4 separate regions of the Homo sapiens genome follow, and all the other regions are linked to region 4. Evidence: promoter capture Hi-C in 16 types of primary human blood cells and fetal thymus (Javierre and others, 2016). All regions are on one chromosome and are shown on one strand. Each heading gives the region's core, a stretch centred on a gene start or on the middle of the fragment in contact. The rest is flanking DNA. Distances are from core to core; before and after follow the strand shown. Region 1 holds the start of WDR87 (WD repeat domain 87). Region 2 overlaps WDR87 (WD repeat domain 87). Region 3 holds the start of MAP4K1 (mitogen-activated protein kinase kinase kinase kinase 1). Region 4 holds the start of YIF1B (Yip1 interacting factor homolog B, membrane trafficking protein).

The links. The method cuts DNA at HindIII sites, captures the fragments that hold promoters and counts their contacts. A CHiCAGO score of 5 or more calls a contact.
Region 1: the fragment with the promoter of WDR87 here is called in contact with the fragment with the promoter of YIF1B in region 4 in 10 of 17 cell types (total B cells, naive B cells, naive CD4 T cells and 7 more); the score reaches 12.2 in total B cells.
Region 2: a fragment that was not itself captured here is called in contact with the fragment with the promoter of YIF1B in region 4 in 5 of 17 cell types (naive CD4 T cells, total B cells, naive B cells and 2 more); the score reaches 7.4 in naive CD4 T cells.
Region 3: a contact is called between the fragment with the promoter of MAP4K1 here and the fragment with the promoter of YIF1B in region 4, in 4 of 17 cell types (fetal thymus, neutrophils, naive CD4 T cells and 1 more). The highest score is 8.5, in fetal thymus.

The regions. Positions count from the first base shown.
Region 1 is chr19:37,904,952-37,908,257 of GRCh38, reverse strand. WDR87 (WD repeat domain 87) reads left to right here and starts at 1,664. Exons shown (of 6, transcript NM_001291088.2): 1 at 1,664-1,759. SIPA1L3 (signal induced proliferation associated 1 like 3) reads right to left here and starts at 1,050. Exons shown (of 22, transcript NM_015073.3): 1 at 900-1,050. RefSeq lists an enhancer at 339-398 and a silencer at 699-938. The HindIII fragment of the contact is 21,411 bases long and covers 1-3,306 here.
Region 2 is chr19:37,887,251-37,890,432 of GRCh38, reverse strand. WDR87 (WD repeat domain 87) reads left to right here. Exons shown (of 6, transcript NM_001291088.2): 6 at 157-3,182. All of the region lies in intron 4 of LOC105372395 (a long non-coding RNA gene), which reads right to left. Among named protein-coding and RNA genes, the nearest start is that of WDR87, 18 kb to the left of the region's middle. The HindIII fragment of the contact is 9,115 bases long and covers 1-3,182 here.
Region 3 is chr19:38,616,644-38,619,775 of GRCh38, reverse strand. MAP4K1 (mitogen-activated protein kinase kinase kinase kinase 1) reads left to right here and starts at 1,823. Exons shown (of 31, transcript NM_001042600.3): 1 at 1,823-1,979; 2 at 2,151-2,208; 3 at 2,332-2,422. The coding sequence starts at 1,881. It overlaps EIF3K (eukaryotic translation initiation factor 3 subunit K), which reads right to left and starts at 588. Exons shown (of 8, transcript NM_013234.4): 1 at 449-588. The coding sequence starts at 507. RefSeq lists an enhancer at 1,250-1,299. The HindIII fragment of the contact is 13,708 bases long and covers 821-3,132 here.
Region 4 is chr19:38,314,219-38,317,354 of GRCh38, reverse strand. It overlaps YIF1B (Yip1 interacting factor homolog B, membrane trafficking protein), which reads left to right and starts at 1,408. Exons shown (of 8, transcript NM_001039672.3): 1 at 1,408-1,495. The coding sequence starts at 1,438. RefSeq lists a silencer at 1,084-1,573. The HindIII fragment of the contact is 4,086 bases long and covers 1-2,068 here.

The DNA of each region.
Region 1 (3,306 bases), core at 415-2,914, 410 kb after region 4:
ACCTGAGGTAGTAGGAAGGGAAGTCAACTGGACCAGTTCTGAATCTGGCCCTCGGGGGTGACCAATACTACGGCCAGAGCCCCACCCTCAGAGGGTCTCTGGGCCACTAGGAAAACGCTGAATAAATGGTACCATTTACTGAGCGTTATATGCCAGCTGCTGTGCTAAGCACTTTACACATGGTATTCTCACTGCATCCTGAAAACAACTCGACGAAGTGGTTGCTATTTAAATCCCCATTTTATAGATAGGGAAACCAAGGCACAGAGAGGTGAAGCCAGTTGCCCAAAGTCACACAGCTGGTAAATGTTCAAATTTGAACCTGGGGTCTCTCTGCCTTCCAAACCAACGCTCTTAACAAAATAATCTCGGTTAACAGCAGCTAGCCTGCATTGGGTGCTAACTAAGGACTCACCTCTTTACATGCACACGCTCAACTAATCCTCACCCTATGCAATCGATAACATCTTCACCTCATTTTTCGGAGAGCTAACAATAACCCAAATACGTAGTAAGTGCCTCCTATGTGCCAAATGTTTTATTATATTATCTCAACAGAGTCTCCGCCAAGATGCTCTCCTACTCCGTTTTACTGCAGGGGAAATTGAGGTTCGGCGCGGTTTTCCCAGATCGCGGCTCCCGAGTGGCACAGCCGGGACGCGAATCCACCGCTCCCCGCCTCCAAGCTCTTCACCACAGCGCCGGGGTGCACGCCTGGAAAGTTGAGCCATGCGGGCACGAGTCCGGCTGGGTCCGGAGGGCGCGAGTCCCGGCGCCGCCGCCCCCCACGGCCAGTACCCACACCCGGCCGTCCGCCCGCGCTGACCCTCGGGGTCCGGGCAGCCACCGATTCCCCGCCACCCTTGCGCGAGGCCGATCCTGCACCCGGAGCCACGTACCTGGACGCCCCGGCTGCCCGCCTCGCGGGCCCCACGATCGCGGCGTCCAGCTCCGCGCCGCTCGCTGGAGACGCCGCCAGCTCCGGTGGCCCGAGTGACTTCCAGGCTGCCCACTTCCAAGCCGCTTCGCGCGAGTCCTCCTGGGAACTGTAGTTTCGCCCTAGCCGGCCGCGAACTCAAAAAGAGAATGGCGCGCGGGGGCTGCCGGGAGCCGTAGGCGCACCGCCGCGCTGCCTCCTAGGAACGGTAGTCCGCTGGTCGCCTTCGTGCAGCTCCAGTCTGTAGAGCACTTCCGCAGCCCCGAGGGGCGTGAGGGAGGGAGGTGTGTCTCCTGCAGACTACAGCTCGAGAGCCGCGCTCTTCGCCCCGCCGGGGCGGTTTCTCCTTTCTCCTGGCCCCGTCTACCTCCTCCCTTCATTCGGCGGAACCTCTCCCTCACTCTCTGCCAGGCTCGAGTCACTTACCCCTAGGACGCTAGCCCGGGGGAAACGGGGGAAGCGGAGCAGTGCGCTAGACCCCCAGCGGAGGGGGCGGTGGAGGAGGGCGTAGATGCACGCCCGCGCACGCGCGGTCGTCGGCAGACCCCGGCCTAAATTGCCGCGGGACCCCGCGGAGAGGATTTTTTTTTTTTTTCTTTCGAGAGCGCGCGCGCGTTCTCGCGCCGGGCGCGCGCCCATGCGCACGCGCGTTCAGACCCCTGGCCTCGGGAAGTCCGCCGGCTGCGGGGTTGGGGGCCAACCGTTCTGTGGGCGGAGTCCTCTCGCAACATCCGCCAGGTAGCTTCTTAGTTGCTGCCCCTAGCTCTAGGAGCTCCTGAGTGCACACGCCGTACCCGTCCCTTGTCGGGAATCCTGTCGCAGGTAACAGGCGCAGCCAATGCTTTGAGATAGAGACGCCCTGCCTTCCCTGCCACGTGCAGGAGGCCCGAGGGTGAGGGGCCCCAGGTGTAGTCGCCTGTCCCCGGCGTAGGCGGCTCCAGAGCTCTGCCTTCGACGGGAGCCACAAGACCCAGGGGCTGCCTAGGGGCCTTGTTATCTTGCATTCTTTTGTTGATCGCACATTCCTGAGGGTAACTAGTGTTTGTAGAGTACCTACACCTTGGGAAATTTTGTCCAAATTTAATCCACCTGGTGACATAACCAAGCAGCGGAATACCCCGCAACACACACTCCTTTTTTAAGGTATATTGCCACTCCTCCATAAGAGTTACCGAGGGAATTGACTGGAATTGCAAGGTCCTCTGGTGGAGAAGCCGGAGTCAATACCCTTTCCGCCTCAGCCTGCCTTCTAGGAAGATGTTCACTAACACTTGAAGCTGGGAAGCATATGTTTCTTCCTGGGAGAGCACATTTTTCCACTCATTCAACAAAAATGGATTAACCACCTATTCCATGTCAGGTTGGGTGATTATGGAGACACAAGAGAAATCCAGACAGACTGGACTCCTACCTTCAGGGAGTTTTCAGTCCAGTAGGGATATCAGGCCACCACCAGACTACAACAATGTAGAGCAATACTAGCTAAGAGAAATATACCCTGCACTTTGAGCCACCGAGGCAGGAGGATCACTTAAGGCCAGGAGTTGGAGACTGGCCGGGTAACATAGCAAGACCCTATCTCTACTAAAACTAAAAAACTAGCTAGGCGTGGTGGCATGTGGCCATAGTCCCAGCTATTTAAGAGGCTGAGTATCGCTTAAGCCCAGGAGTTTGAGACTGCAGTGAACCATGATTGCACCACTGCCCTCCAGCTTGGGCGACAAAGCAGAACCCTGTCTCTTTAAAAAAAAAAAAAATTATATATGTGTGTGTTTTTATGTGTAATGCAAGCCACATATGCAATTTTAATTTTGACATAAACAGGTAAAATTCATTTTATTTATCATTATTATTTACTTTTTTTTTTCTTGCTATGTTGCCCAGGCTGGTATTGAACTCCTGGCCTCAAGACATGTTCCTACCTCAGCCTCGCAAAGTGCTGGGATTATAGGCGTGAGCCATCTCACCCAGCTATGAAATTAATTTTAATATTTTATTTAACCCAAATATATCCAAAATATTATTCCAAGTTAGGTTAATGGAAAAATGTTTTCATTGCTTCAGTTCTACTTTTTTTTTTTTTTTTTTTGGAGACGGAGTCCCACTCTGTCGCCAGGCTGGAGTGCAGTGGCGCCACCTCGGCTCCCTGCAACCTCTGACTCCCTGGTTCAAGTGACTCTCCTGCCTCAGCCTCCCAAGTAGCTGGGATTACAGGCAGGCGCCATCACACCCAGCTAATTTTTGTATTTTTAGTAGAGACTGGGTTTCACCATGTTAGCCAGGATGGTCTCGATCTCCTGACGTGATCTGCCAGCCTCGGCCTCCCAAAATGCTGGGATTACAGGCGTGAGCCACCATGCCTGGCCTCA
Region 2 (3,182 bases), core at 155-2,654, 430 kb after region 4:
ATAAAGCAAAGAGAATGCTTTTTTTTTTTAAGGCCTCAGTTCTCTCTGTTGTTACTTCTTATATGACAGTTCTTCTTAGCTCACACCTAATATTGGGAAGGGTTTCATGTCGCTTCCCATACTTTGCTTACCTCCATCTCTCGATTTTTACTGCAGGCCAAAAATGGTTGCGGGGTCTCAAGAAGACGAAAGAGAGAGACTCTAAACAGATGAGCACAGAGCCAGGCCTCTTAGAGGATGAAAGTGGGACTGAGGCCGCACCAATTGAGATGGAGGAAGCATCCGTCTATTCCCAATGGTCTTCAAGCACCAGTGTAATAAAGCTCTCAAAAGATGTTGATTCTCAAGAGAAAGATATCTCGAAGGATCACATTGCATTGACCCTGAAGAGGCTGCAGAAAATACGTGACAAAAGAGACAAGAAAGCAACAGCTCAGAAACTCAAAAAGAAGCACAAAAAGAAGGGAAAAGAAGCCAAAGTTATAAATGAGGAAACTACACCTCCTGTAATGGAACAGCCAGTTACTAAAAAGGTTAAAATCCAAGGGCGGGGAGCCTCTGGAATATCTGGCCGCAGGTCAACCGCTGGAGATGGCTCATCATGGAGGGACGATCTATGTCGTCTTATGGCCCTGAGGATATCTGGTTCCCAAACAAAAATGTCAGAAAACCTAAACGCTGAGCTAGTGACATTTGCTCAGGAGATGCTGGTAGATAGGCACCCCAGCTGGGAACTCTTTCAGGAGATCTGCCCCCTATTGAAGAAAGAAAGTAAGGTTCTGCTTGAGGACCTTGATTGGGATGTAGTCCCGCCAGAGAAGAAACCAATTTTTATCCAGGAAGGAGCAATTAGAGAGGACATGATACAAGGTGTGACCCAAGAGGTGATCAGACACAAGGAAGTGATGCCAAGGGAAGAAGAACAAGCACAAAAGAAAGCAAGAGACATGCTGGGCTTGGAGGAAACCCAAGTGATTTTGAAAAAGGGCAAGAAAGTTATTTTTTTAGAACCAGGTAATGTAACCATGGGAAAAGAAATATCAAAGAAAGAAGAGAAGAAAACCTTTCAGAAGTCACCTAAGCAAGGGAGGAAAGCTGTCCAGAAGGAAAGAAAAGTAGGAAAAATAAAGAGGGAAATGACCAAAGAAGAGAGGGATATGAGTGAGGAAGTGGAGGAAATGGCCACACTAGAGGAGAAAGTGGTCAAACAAGAAGGAAAACTGGTTATGATTGAGAGGACACCATCTTGGCAGGACTGGAAAAAGGCCTGGGATGAGTGGAAACAGGTCCATGGTGAGACAAGGAAATCCTGGAAGGCATGGAAGGAAGAATGGGAGAAGAGGCTTCTTCAGGAAGAGGAGAAACTACATCAGGCTGGAGAGAAGCTATCCCCGGAGGAGGAAATGCTTCAGGAGGACAAGAAGCTGAAATGGGAGGAGTGGAAACAAGTCTGGGAAAATATGTTATCATCTAAGTCCAAGGAGCAACAGTACAAGGATGAGGAAGAAGTGACTTTGGAGGAAGAAGTGTCTCGGGAGGGGGAAGAAAAAGAACAGCAGGTCACAGAAGAGCAGAGACACATCCAAGAAGAACACAAATGGGCCAGAATACACAGGAAACGAGCCCGAGCTGAAAAAAAACGAGCCCAAGAAGAGAGGAAATTAGCACAAGAAGAAGAGAAACTTGCACAAGAAGAGAGACAGTTGGCCCAGGAAGAGAGAAAACTGGCCCAGGCATACGTGAAAATAACCCAGGATGACAGGGAAATGGCCCAGGCAGAGGGTAAGTTTGCCCAGAAAGAGGAAACACTGGCCCAAAGAGGGGAGAAGCTAAGCCAGGAGGCGGAGAAATTGGCCCAGAAAAGGAAGAAACTGGCCAAGAAATGGGAGAAAGTGGCTAGAGAAGAAGAGAAACTAGCAAAGAAAGGAGGGAAACTGGCTGAGGTGAAAAACATATTGGCCCAGAAAGTGGAAGAACTGCCCCAGAGGGAACAAAATCTGGACTGGCAAGAAAAGGAGCTGGCCCAGGAATTGGAGGAACTGGAATGGGACATGGAAGAACTGTCTTGGAAAGAAGAGGAACTGAATCAGGAAGAGGGGAAACTGGTTGAGGAAAAGAAGAAACTGGCTGAGGAAGAGGAGGCATTGGCCTGGCAAAGGGAGAAACTGTCTGAAGAAGAGACAAAACTGGCCCAGGAAGAAGAGTTGCTGATCCAGGAAAAGGAGAAACTGGCCCAGCACAAGGAAAAAATGCCTGAGGAAGAGGAAAGACTGGGACGGAAAAGGGAGCAATTGATTGAGAAGAAGATGAAACTGGCCCAAAAAAGGGAAAGATGGATCAACAGCATGGAAGAACTCACAAAGAACAAGATGATACTGTACCAGAAGAAGAATCTGGCTCAGGAAAAGAAGAATCTGGCCCAGGAGAAGGAAAAATTGGCTCAGAGGAAAGAGAACCTACTCTATAATAAAGAAAGACTCACCCACAGCAAAAAGCAATTAGTGCAAGTAAAGAACAAATTGGGAATGTTCAACAAGATACTGGCTCAGGTAGAGGAGAAGCTGACACAGGAAAAGGAGACTGTGATCAAGAAGAAGGAGAAACTGGCTGAAACAGAGAAAAAATTGGTCCAAGTAGAGGATAGTTTGGCCAAAAAACAGGAGAAATTGGCCCAGGAAAAAATGAAATTAGCTCTGGAGAAGGCAATGGTCCAAGGAAAGAAACGGCTCAGAGGAGAGTTGGATATTGCTAAGGAAGAAAAGGCATTGAACCTGGAAATGAAAAGACTGGCTGAGGAGAAGATGAGACTGGTTGAGGGAAAAGAAACACTGTCTAAGGGAGAGACTCCAGAAACTTCTAGACAAAGGAAAATGACTCAAGTTGAACAAGAACTATTTGAGAGAAAATTGTCACTAGAGGAGAAGATACTGCTACATGAAGACAGGATATTGGCCATGGAGGAAAGCGAAATTGCCAAAGGAAAACTGGAATTTACTAGAGGACAGAGAATATTTGTCCAGGGGCAAAGAAAGTTAGCCAAGGCTTCAAGGAAGTTGATTAAAAAAAGGGAGAGCCTTTCCAAGGAACCAGCAAAACTGAACAAAATCTTAAAGGCACTTCAAAAACTAACCAGGGATGAAAGGAAACTAACACAGGAAGAAATAAAAATGACAAAGATGAAG
Region 3 (3,132 bases), core at 574-3,073, 300 kb before region 4:
CAGTTTATTTCAGTAAACGTGTGGAGAATGAATGACTTATAGAGCAGAGAAGGGAGAGATTAAGAGGCACTCAAAGGAGGCGGAGCAGAGAAGGAAACCTTAAGGCAATTTACGAAGAGACTGAGTGGTACCAAGATTCTCTCGCTTCTAGGCCTTTGCAGTGCTTTTGTTTCTTTCTTTTAGAGACGGGGTTTGGCTGTTGCCCAGGCTGGTCTCTAACTCCTGGGCTCAGGCGACCCACCTACCTCGGCCTCCCAAAGTGCTAGGATCACAGGCGTGAGCCACTACCCCCAGCTCAGTGCCGTTTCTTTAAGCATCTCCTCCTCCAGGAGGATAGAGAAACCCCACCCCGCGGCAAGCCCAGGACCCTGAACACCCCTTGCTGTCTCCGGAAAACCCTCTCCTCCGCCCCGCTTGGCCAGAGCGCTTCCTCCAACCGGGCTCAGACCTGTCGATACCCTTGAGCAACTTGCCCACGTTGGCTCTCATCTGCTCAAACATCGCCATGACTTCTGTCGCCTTCCACAACCAGGGCTGGAGGCTAACACTGACCCGGCACGGCGTCCTCAAGGACGGGAACAGGAAGAGGTGGTGGAAACGGAAACGACGTCGTTGTTGTCGCTCCAGCTCCTTGGGTGCGGTAAAGGGAAAGGCTCTAGCAGCAGCCGCCACGCTTTCCGGCTGCCACGTGACTTCTTCCTCGCAGGCGCAATTGGCGCGTGCGCATTCGCGCCACTCAAGCTGGACAGACAGCGTGAGAAAAATCTTACTGGATCCCAGTGCGCAGGCGCCTCTCGTGGCGAGGGGGCGGGGCTAAGCTTTTCCCGGGCCTCACAGACCCAGTTCCAGTGCCGGTAGCGCGGGAGCGTGCGCGCGCGAACTCACCGGGAAGCACCCGGAGCTCTGGCGGCGTGCGCGCGCGTTGTATTGCGCGCGGCCATGAGGCCACGGAGCTCTGCGGGAATGCACGCAGCAGCCTTACGTTTAGGCCATGGCCAAGTTCCGAGGGAGGTGTTCTGAGGTCCCTCTTGCCACAGGCCTGGGCGCCTGGTGCAGGATCCTGAGCTCTCCAGTTTCAAGTCTCAGCCCTTGGTCCCCAGCTCCAGGAGGAGGGTCCCACAAAGCTACTGTGCTCTGCCGGGCAGGGGCTGGGGTGAGGGCTCCTGGACTTCGCCGGATCGCGCCCCGTCTCCATTAGGTTCCGGTCTTGGAGCTGAGGGCGAGCGTCCCATTTGTACTGCCATGAATTATATATTATGTATAGGTTTTGTACACTGCAGGCCTACAAAATGCAGTTATGTGCCATGCATGTGGAGGTATATGTCCTGGGTACATCCACGTGTGTACTGTGCACACAGGTATCCAGGCAGATGCACGTCTACACGCCTGCGCAGTGCAGAGGAGGTAACCCAAGTGCATGTATGTGACAGGTGAACAGGCATGTACACTGCATAGCCATCCCTTTGCAGACCTGCCGCCTTCGGGTTGTGGCCAAACCTTCAAGCACCCAGCAGAGGTTTAGACACTACCTAGGAGACGGGGGCGGGGGTTCTAAGGCACCCCCCTCCAACCCAGTTACGATTAAGATCATTTGCATCACATTTACATCCAGCCCTGGGCCTTGGAGGTTGAGGGTGGTCCCTTGGGTCCCAAGACAAGCTGCCCCTCAGAGGCTCTCAGAGCCCAGGGGACGGGGGGGTGGAGCCCGTTGCACAGTCGTGCAGTGCAGCTGGGGCAGGAAGCGAGAGTGAGGAGGGGGGAGGCCACAGCCCGCGGAGGCAAGGCGGGTGCAGGGCTTCTGGGGACGGAGGGAGGTGCCAGAAGTTGAGCCCTGAGGCCCTGCTGGCCCCTGGGCGCAGGCCCAGCTCAGGCCCCCAGGGATGGACGTCGTGGACCCTGACATTTTCAATAGAGACCCCCGGGACCACTATGACCTGCTACAGCGGCTGGGTGGCGGCACGTATGGGGAAGTCTTTAAGGTGAGGAAGCCCCTCTGTCCCCAACACCCTACAACCAGTGACCTTTAAGGCAAGCCCTCGGCAGGGAGGAGGCTGCAAGAGGGGGTCCCAGTTCTTGACCTTGACTCAGGGATGCTGTGGAGGGACTCTGGCAAATGGAGCCTGCCTGACTGCCAACTTCCCCTTTGCAAGGCTCGAGACAAGGTGTCAGGGGACCTGGTGGCACTGAAGATGGTGAAGATGGAGCCTGGTGAGGAGGGAACATGGAGCTCCTTCCCCACATCCCCACCTTCGCCTCCTGGGACACTGGGATCACCTCCCCTGTAGCTCTCTCCCCATGCGAGCTGCCTTTTCTCTCCCGCCCTCCTCACAGATGATGATGTCTCCACCCTTCAGAAGGAAATCCTCATATTGAAAACTTGCCGGCACGCCAACATCGTGGCCTACCATGGGAGTTATCTCTGGTGATGAACCTCAGACCCACCCTGGCACCCAGCCCAGCCCCTAACCCGGAGTCCCCATTTCTTGATGGGGGTACCCTCAGTTCTTTTTTTTTCTTTTCTTTTTCTTTTTTGAGATGGAGTCTTGTTCTGTTGCCAGGCTGGAGTGCAGTGGCATGATCTCAGCTCACTGCAACCTCTGCCTCCTGGGTTCAAGCAATTCTCTGCCTCAGACTCCCGAGTAGCTGGGATTACAGGCGCTCACCACCCTGCCCGGCAAATTTTTGTATTTTTAGTAGAGATGGGGTTTCACCATCTTGGCCAGGCTGGTCTTGAACTCCTGACCTTGTGATCCACTCGCCTCGGCCTCCGAAAGTGCTGGGATTACAGGTGTGATCCACCGCGCCTGGTCTTGGCACCCTCAGTTCTAACCTTGAACTTCCATTTCTCACCATAACCCGACCTCCCATCCTGGACCCCCATTTTTGACTGGGCTAACCCTACCATGATCCTCACTCCTAAGTCCCACTTTTCTGACCAGAGCAGCCTCTAATCTAATCTCCAATCTAAAATTCCCATTTCTGACCAAGAGTACCCCAAATTGATCTCTTCATAGTAACTGAATTTGAAATCAACTCCCTTGAAACGAAGCTCTCACCATTCTGCTCTTTGGCTCACCCAGTTTCACTCTCTGCTCCTTTAATATAAACTCCTAAATTCCCTGATCCCCAAAT
Region 4 (3,136 bases), core at 159-2,658:
CTCAGAGGAGGAAGAGGAAGCCACAGCGATAGGGTCACTTGCTGACATCCTTCCGGATGCGCTATCGCTGCGCAGAAGTAACTTCCACCACTATGTTTTCCTGAGATAAGTCGGGGAGTCTGAGAGGGAGAGAAGGGGGGAGACTGAGAGTCAGAGAGAGGAGAGACTAAGGACGCTAGGTGGGCAGGGCTCTTCACTTGCAGGTGCGCCTGTGTGCTGTGAGTTGCTGGGGGTTGTAGAATGCTTTTGGTGGACAGAGGGAACCAGGTTGCAATGTGAGAACATTTTTATGAATTTCTGGGAAACTGCCTTAAGATCTATTCCAAGAGAGACACCTGGTTCTTCTCACCTAACTTGTTGGGTTTCCTTTTCTCACTCTAAATATTCACTTTAAGGCCGGGCACTGTGGCTCATGTCTGTAATCCTAATGCTTTAGGAGGCTGAAGCAGGAGGATGGCTTGAGCCCAGGAATTCGAGACCAGCCTGGGCAACATAGCAAGATCCTGTTTTGACAAAAAATTTAAAAATTAGCTGGGCATGGTGGTGCATGCCTGTGGTGCCAGTTACTGGGGAGGCTGAGGCAGGAGGATCACTTGAGCTCAGGGGGTCCGAGGCAGCCTGGAAAACAGAGGAAGACCCTGTCTCAAAATAAATAAATATTTACTTTAATACCTAAGGGATGTCAAAAATTGTATAAGCCCCTACAACTCCAATTAGCCCCTCAGGAACACAAATGTTTCTCTTTTCCTTGCTCCACAGCCTTTTCTGGCTCTCCAGTGCTCTCAATGACCCAAACTGAACGGCTGTCTGCAGAGAACTGCATTTCCCATCGACCTTTTCGCTCGATATTTACATTTTAAAAAATGTTTTGTAGCGATGGAGATCTCGCTGTTGCCCAGGCTGGTCTCGAACTCCTGGGCTCAAGCGATCCTCAGCCTTCCAAAGTGCTGAGATTACAGGCGTTAAGCCACTGAGCCTGGCTAAATTAAAAAAAAAAAAAATTGTAGGGATGGGGCGGGGCGAGGGTCACTATGTTGCTCAGGCTAGTCTCGAATCCCTGGGCTGAAGCAATCCTCCCGCCTCGGCCTCCCAAAGTGCTGGAGTTAGGGGCGTGAGCCCCGGCAAGGGGCAGACACTCATTTTCTGTCGTGGCAGACACCGCCTCCTCCTGGGATTGGTCCCGGCCTCGCCCTCCTGCCACTCAGGCCTTGACTCGCTTTACTGCATGAGCCCAGTAGCCCAGTCTCCGCCTCTTACGTAAGGCACCGCCCAGTCGTCCAGGCCTCCGTGAAGGGGGGGGCTGGAGGGGTCGGGGGGGTGGGGGCGAGGCCTTCCCTCAATCCTGACGTCCATTGGCTGTCTCTTCGCCGGCGGGGCGTGGGTACGGGAGCCGGGCGGGCACGCTCCGAACCGCGGCTTAGGTGGCGGCGGCGAAGGATGCACCCGGCAGGCTTGGCGGCGGCGGCTGCGGGGACGCCCCGGCTGCGTAAGTGGCGTACGTGGCCGGCGGAGGAGATCGGGCGGGCGGGGGCGTGGCGGGGCGGCCGCGTCGGTTGGCGAGGTCACTGCAGGTCAGAGGTCACGAGATCAAGGATCTGGAACCCTGAGGTGTGCACAGCGCTGGGATGCCAGGTTCGGGTAGGAGGCCCCTTGGGGGGCGATTCTTTAGGAAATTCCTTTAGAAGAAAACAACTTGGGACTGGATAGCGTGCGATATGCAGAGAAATGCAACTTTCATTCATTTGCAGTTAGCGATCCGCCCTTCCCTGCTCCCCACCCTTCCGTGGCTCCCCAGTACCCGCCTGCTGTCGCCCACACCCTTAGGACAGCTTCGTGGCCCCCCGGGAGCGCAGAGGGCCATGCCTACCGCTCATTTAAGAAGCGAACCTGTATTGTGCTGTTGGCCCCCTTTTCCTGTCTCTTCATCTCCGTGAGTGTGCTGTGTGTTTCATTTATTCATTCAACCTAACTTGTCTCAACTCCCATGTGTCAGGCCCTGTGTTGGGATGGAGATGTTGTGGGAGCCCTGAGGAGGCACATGACCCAGCCTAGGGGTGTCAGTGAAGCTTCCTGGAAGAGGATACTTCTTTTTCTTTTTTTTTTTTTTTTGAGACCTAGTTTTGTTCTTGTTGCCAAGGCTGGAGTGCAATGGCGCGATCTCAGGTCACCGCAACCTCCGCCTCCCGGGTTCAAGCGATTCTCCTGCCTCAGCCTCCCAAGTAGCTGGGATTACAGGCGCAGGCCACCACGCCCGGGGTGGTATAGACGGGGTTTCTCCATGTTGGTCAAGCTGGTCTCAAACTCCCGACCTCAGGTGATCCGCCCGCCTAGGCCTCCCAAAGTGCTGGGATTACAGGCGTGAGCCACCGCACCCGGCATGGAAGAGGATAATTCTGATCATGAAAAGTTACCCAGGAGAAGGAGATTTGTAGTGAGAGGGCAGGCTGGGCGTGCTGGCCTACACCTATAATCTCAGCACTTTGGGAGGTCGAGGTGGGCGAATCACTTGGGGCCAGGAGTTGGAGACCAGCTTGGGTAACAGCAAAATCCTATCTCTAATAAAAGTACACAAAATTAGCCGGGTGTGGTGGCGAGCACCTGTAATCCCGGCTACTTGGGAGTCTGAGGCTTGAGAATCACTTGAACCCAGGAGGCAGAGGTTGCACTGAGGCGAGATTGCACCAGCCTGGGCGACAGAGCAAGACTTCGCCTCAAAAAAAAAAAAAAAAAAAAAAAAAGAGGGTGATCCACCTGCCTTGGCCTCCCAAAGTGCTGGGATCACAGGCATGAGTCACGGTGCCCAGCCAACCAGCCTGGCCAACATGATGAAACCCCATCTCTACTAAAAATGCAAAAAAATTAGGTTGGGCGCAGTGGTTCACACCTATAATCCCAGGATTTTGGGAGGCCGAGGTGGGAGGATCACGAGGTCAGGAGTTCGAGACCAGCCTGGCCAACATGGTGAGACCCCATCTCTACTAAAAATAGAAAATTTAGCTGGGCGTGGTGGTGTGCGCCTGTAGTCCCAGCTACTCAGGAGGCTGAAGCAGAAGAATTGCTTGAACCTGGGAGGTGGAGGGTGCAGTGGGCCGAGATTTCACCACTGCACTCCAGCCTGGGTGACAGAGTGAGACTC